2 separate regions of the Homo sapiens genome follow, and region 2 is linked to region 1. The links are contacts of gene promoters, found by promoter capture Hi-C in blood cells and fetal thymus (Javierre and others, 2016). All regions are on one chromosome and are shown on one strand. The core of a region is centred on a gene start or on the middle of the fragment in contact, and the rest is flanking DNA. Distances in the headings are between cores, read along the strand shown. Region 1 holds the start of OR2AG2 (olfactory receptor family 2 subfamily AG member 2). Region 2 overlaps DNHD1 (dynein heavy chain domain 1).

Region 1 (2,961 bases), core at 198-2,697:
CAAGTAGTAGAAGATTTGGACTCGACCACATTTAGCAGTCCAGCTCTCTGCCTCCTTTCACTATAACTATTAACGCAAATTTCATGTCCATCATTTTCTTTCTTCATTTATATGTAGTTTTATTGAATGTACACATATTTATAGGAAGTTTATTTTCACTTAAGTTCTTAACACTGCAAAAGAAGTACCACGATATATAATCCTAAGGTGTCTCTTGCTTCCCTTAATATTAGTTTCCTAAGTTGCTTTTTTTGTTGTATGCTCTGGTTCCTTTGTTTAGATTCCTACATAGTAACCCTTTGGTGCATATCTATCTATTCCACTGTTGATGGGCATAAAGGTCGTTTCTAATTTTTATTGTACTGTGAATAATGCTGCTCTTATAATTTACATGTTTAAAACCGTCTTTTCAGTACATTCCTTTTATAATTAAAAAATAAAAAGATTTTTATATTAGTTCTTCTGTTGCACTTCTGAAATAATTTTGAGTATATATTTTATATAAACAGAAAGTGGAAACTTATTTTTATTTTTTTTAAGTTCAAAGAGAAAAGATATGATAACTCCGGAAGAAATTTTCAGCATTTCCTGGTGAAATGGCTGATTAAAGAGATACTAAAGAATGAGGAAGATTAAGCACAGAATTGGGTGAGAGATGGGAAAGCCTGAACTAAAAGCAGAAGTGAGTGCAAGCAGGTGCTGTGTCATCATCCCAAAGCTCTGAGCAGCTCAGCTGACTGATCACAGAATATGTAGGCCCATGAACAAATGAACACACACAAGAGGGAGTAGAAAGGAGAAACAAAGAACTGAAAAATAAATTAGTGCTGGATCCTCATTAAAGCTCAGTGAAGGAAGACCTGATATTAACAGAAGCATAGTTAACTCCCTCTAGTTGGTAATAGCCCAGGCTAGTGGCACAAAGAGGGATATGTGAGTGGCAGCATCTATAGAACCCATGAGACAGACTTTATATTTTGGACAGAGGGCTGGACAGGGAGGTGTTGCTTTTCAGATTGGTTACTGACACTATCTATTTTGTCAGAAACAGCCTCTGTCTGGTTTTCCGGTCAGTGATTTCTAGGTTAAAATTATAGTTTTGGTTTTGTAAGGCAGGAGAAAGATCTTAGACTCCAATGAGTGGTGAGACACAGCAAGCCCATGGCGGGCAGAACAAGGCCTCAAGGTTCAGAGCTCATTTGGTGGTAAAGTTTGAAGAAATGGCAGGCCAGGAGACATGCCCAAGGGGATTTATTAAAATCCCATTTCCTGGAGCAATATTTTCAGGGGAGGTCATGTCAGCTGAGAGGGTGAGACTATGAACCCTCCCCCAGGACAGGCCTCACTGTTGGCGCAGAGACAGTAAGGCTGGGCATTGGTGGGTCTCTTTTAAGCAGCTCTTCTTATACCTCTTTTCTCACATTCCTGCTGTGCTCCTCTTTTATCATGAAACACAGCATGAGGGGAATATATGAAATCTGAGGACCTGGACTTAAGAACTCAGCTAGAACCATTCCAAAGCAGTAAGGACTTTCTCGCAAGGACAGTGAATGAGAGAACTTTGGAAGAGATTCAGCTCCTCACTTCTGCAGGATCCTGCCCTAGGTTCTCAGCTGCCTGTCTGCATCTATCTCTACTTCCAGAGAGGACTTGCAGTGCCAGTGACTGGAGGAGCCTTTGATCTCTGATCCTAGAGACAGCCATACACACACCTACATTCATCCTGGCCAGAAGAAGCAACTTTTCTTTCTTTGGCTTCTTGAACCTCTTTACCTGGAAGCTATGCCCCTTCCCATATGAGGTAAGGGCTCTGTCTCCGTTTCAAGGCAATATGGGAAGTCTGGAAGTCCTGAGAAACAGGGTCAAGACCTTACACTGCTCTCCTTCTCAGATTCTCTAGTTCCTCAGGCTTTATGATTCACTCACTCCCATCTATATCTTATCAACCTTGTACATGTACCCATCTTGCACATGTAGGAACAACCAAAATAATTCTATGCCATTGGCCAGCCGTGAGTTCCTAGAATTCCTGATGATGGCCTCCTGGTAAAAGTCTCAGTACTTACCTTTGTTACATCTAGATTTTCCTGGCCTCCAGTAGTTTGATGTGAGTCCCCAAATGAATAGTACCTCAAAGGAGGACTATCTAAAATATGCTGAAGTGCCTTTCCCCTGCAGGACTGCTTGGCGCTAAGTCCAGTGCCACACAAAAAGCCAAATGAAGTAAATACAAAAAATAAATATACTGAGCAGAGATGAAAAAGAAAAACTTATAAAATATACTTCCAAAAATTTAGCTCTACCTTGTTAATTGACTGACCATTTTCCATAAACTATAGCAATGCCTCTTAATATCAGCCTCTGCTGACTTCTCTTGGTTTGAAATACCCGCAACCACCAGCAGTTTTCCAGAATGAAGCTCTTCCTCTGTAGGCCCAGTGTGTGTTCTCTGGCCTTTCCCTTTAGATGACCCCAGAGAGAACTCAGTAAATGGAAAGAAGGGAAAACAATAGTCCCGTATCAGAGGGAGGAGGTAGGTATGTAGGATCCTGAGTCCTGGTTACACCACCTTACCCAAGCCCTGATTTTTCTTCTCTTTGAAATCCTGTCCAAACATCTGGTGCAGGAAGCTAGAAGAATGTGCCCAGCTAATTATGTTCCTCCTTTTATTTACCTGTCCATTCATCTTTTTATTCAAGAAAAATGAAGGCATTTCAAATCTAATATTTAGCAGAAATAGTGCTTAGAATTGACTTTGGACTTGTGTTTTTGTTGTCAACAGACAAATAAGGTTTTCCGGTCAGTGGGTCAGTGGTTCCTAGGTTAAAATTATAGTTTTGATTTTGTAAGGCAGGAGAAAATTCTTAGACTACATTGCGTGGTGAAACACAGTTTTATACAGGGTATTTTTCTGGGGGTTTCTTGTCCAGACTTCACTGGGCAAAAGTGCAAGGAGGACAT
Region 2 (2,961 bases), core at 279-2,778, 250 kb after region 1:
CTCTATTGTTGTAGAACCATCTCCCATGAGACACTGAGAACGTCAGCCATTTGATTTCCTAGCCTATCTTACAGCTAGAGGTAGACAGATGACGCAGATTTTGATGGTGAGATGTAAAAGTGAGTCTGATGGGGAGTTTCCGGAAAAGATTCCTTTTCCTGGCAAAAAGTGAGAGTCAGACACAGAGCTCTCTTGTTAACCTTGCCTCTCCTTTTCTGCCTGATTTTGCTTGAGAATGGGATGCTTGACATTGCAGCTTGTCTTGCAACTATGAGGCAACAAGCCTGAGAATGAAAAAACAAAAAAAATGAAAACCACTTTATTGTGGCCTCCTCCGCCACACATAACTCTCTTACAGAATCTGCTCTTAAATATAGCTAAAAGCAGGAAAGAGTGATGGAAAGATACAAAGAACCTGGTACTTGATGACCACTTTTGAGCCACAGAACAAACTCTGGAAGCACCTACTTCAAGACTTCTTGTTTTGTTTTGTTTTATTTTGTTTAGGCCACTGCAGCTGAATCTAGCTGCATCATGAATTTTTTAGTTATAGGTGCGTACGTAGTTTTGAGTTAAGATTACTTAATCCAAAATCAACCCCCATACTCAGGCCCATATAATAGACGTTTATAGCCAAACACAAGCATAGCTGAAGACTGCAACCTCCCCCACCATACACAGCCTTCTAAGAGGATCTACCCTTGCCTATAGCTAAAAGCCAGTTATTTTGCACCATGACACATCCCCTTGCCATAGCTTATGAATAAAGCATGCAATCTACAGGAGAAGCTGAATCAATCATACTCCTTGTCTTGAAGTTTGAACTAAATCAGTCTCACGGACAGGAAAACTCAAATATCATATAAAGTCAAGGATGGAGTCGGTGTCATAAAAAGTTTAAGTTATTTGAAAGAAGTAGTTATAAGGGAACAGAAAGTCCAAAGGAAGGAGAGATAACTGGACTCAGGAATCAGGGCAGAGGAACTGGAAAGATACACAGAGAGAAGAGATGAAAAAAGGGATAAGCAGAAATTTGAGAGACAGGGGTTCTCTTCCTGATATTCTACTTTCAAATTCTGTGAAGATGGGTGCTGTTACTTCTTCTCTACCTTTGAAGTTAGTAATTGTCTGTTTTGTGAGCTCCAAAATATAAGACAAGCTTGAAGAGCAGTGATTCTAGGTGCCAAGACCTATGAGAGTGCTCAGGCAATATGGTGCTATACAAAGTCAATTGTGATTCCAAGCAATGGAAAGAAAAGCTAGTCTATTTTTAATGGAATTTGGTAAAAGAACATACCAACAAAACAAAACAAAAATCACTAACTTCATAGCCAAGGTAAGAATGAAATAAACTTTGCTTATAATGAGAAAATTTTTTTTAAATTTTAGATTTGGTATCTCTGTCACCCAGGCTGGAATGCAGTGGTGTGATCATGCCTCACTGCAGCCTCAAACTCCTGAGATCAAGCAATCCTTCCACCTCAGCCTCCTGAGTAGCTGAGACTACAGGTGCACACTACCATGCCTGGCTGATTTGTAAATTTTTTTGTAGAGACAGGGTCTCACTATGTTGCTCACACTGGCCTCAAACTCCTGGCCTCAAGTAACTCTCCCACTTTGGCCTCCCAAAGTGCTGGGATTACAGGTGTGAGCCACTGTGCCTGGCCATAAGAAGAAATTTGAAATCAACTAAATCAAAGGAATGTAATTTACCTGCCATTTCTAAGGGATTTGGGGCTTCAATTGAAAATTTATATGTATTGATATAATACATATGAGTCAACATGGAGTTGAATTTTAAAATATCAATCCAACTTGAAAGGCTTCAATGATACAGATCTTTACTATAGGTTTCCTTGAATGAGTGACTCAGACATTCCACACAGAGCAAAGCTTCTTGTTAAACATATTTATATGACTCCTCATACCTCCAAGGTTGCTTTCTCACAGAGCGGCAAGGAAAAAAAAATCTTTCCTTCTCTCTCATCTATAAATCTACTCACAGTCACACTGCTTCCCTCTATACTTCCTCTTCCTAGTCCTACTGCTCATACCTCATACTCCAAAGAGACCTTCCCTGTGCAGTCCCCTTGCAAAAATCACAGTTTTCATATTTTTGCATTGTATCTCCAAGCTAATTTCAGGCATCCCAACCAAAACGTACATCAAGAGATTATATAATTAAAATTAGGCAATCCTTTGTCTCTTTTCAGTGTAACAGATTTATCTTACCACAAATATCAAAAAGTTATTCCAATCTTGGTAGGATATTGCCATACTAAAGTTTAAGGTTTTTGAATCTGACACCTGACAGATGAGAAAAGTGATTAGCTGATCGTGCTTTCTGAGTTTTGAACTGCAGAAAACTTCCGATAAAATTGTAAGGACATCAAATAGTAACAGTAATACTCTCTTGTTTAGTTGTAAAATGTTCTCTGGAAAATATTGGAGAACGCCGTTTAAGACTGGAGAATATGTTGCAACTATTTTATTAATAATATCCTGAGTATTCTTTTAGTGATTAGAATCTAGTCAATGTATACATTTCTATTGAAAAGGGGTTAATTTTCATACTTTTGTGTGTAAGTGGGGCTATTGAAATTATTTTGTAATTTAGTTAAAAGGCCATACAAATTTTGCCTCATTTAAGTAACAGTTTTCTCAGTTGGATGTATGTTTCTTAAAGACTACTATTAGTGTTTTAACTGCTACTTATTTACCTGTATTCAAAATTTATTCCATTTTTTAAACTTTTATTTTAGATTCCGGGGTACATGTGCAGGTTTGTTATATAGGTAAACTCCTATCACAGGAGTTTTTTGTACAGATTATTTCATCACGGTACTAATCCTAGTACCCAATAGTTGTTTTTTTCTGTTCCTCTCCTTCCTCTCACCCTCCACCCTTAAGTAGGCTCCAGTGTCTGTTGTTCCCCTCTTTGTGTCCATGAGTTCTCATCAT

What was found. The method cuts DNA at HindIII sites, captures the fragments that hold promoters and counts their contacts. A CHiCAGO score of 5 or more calls a contact.
Region 2: a contact is called between a fragment that was not itself captured here and the fragment with the promoter of OR2AG2 in region 1, in 1 of 17 cell types (activated CD4 T cells). The highest score is 5.1, in activated CD4 T cells.

Annotation. Positions count from the first base shown.
Region 1 is chr11:6,770,462-6,773,422 of GRCh38, reverse strand. OR2AG2 (olfactory receptor family 2 subfamily AG member 2) reads left to right here and starts at 1,447. Exons shown (of 2, transcript NM_001004490.2): 1 at 1,447-1,801. The HindIII fragment of the contact is 9,473 bases long and covers 1-2,961 here.
Region 2 is chr11:6,522,411-6,525,371 of GRCh38, reverse strand. All of the region lies in intron 10 of DNHD1 (dynein heavy chain domain 1), which reads right to left. Among named protein-coding and RNA genes, the nearest start is that of DNHD1, 27 kb to the right of the region's middle. The HindIII fragment of the contact is 734 bases long and covers 1,162-1,895 here.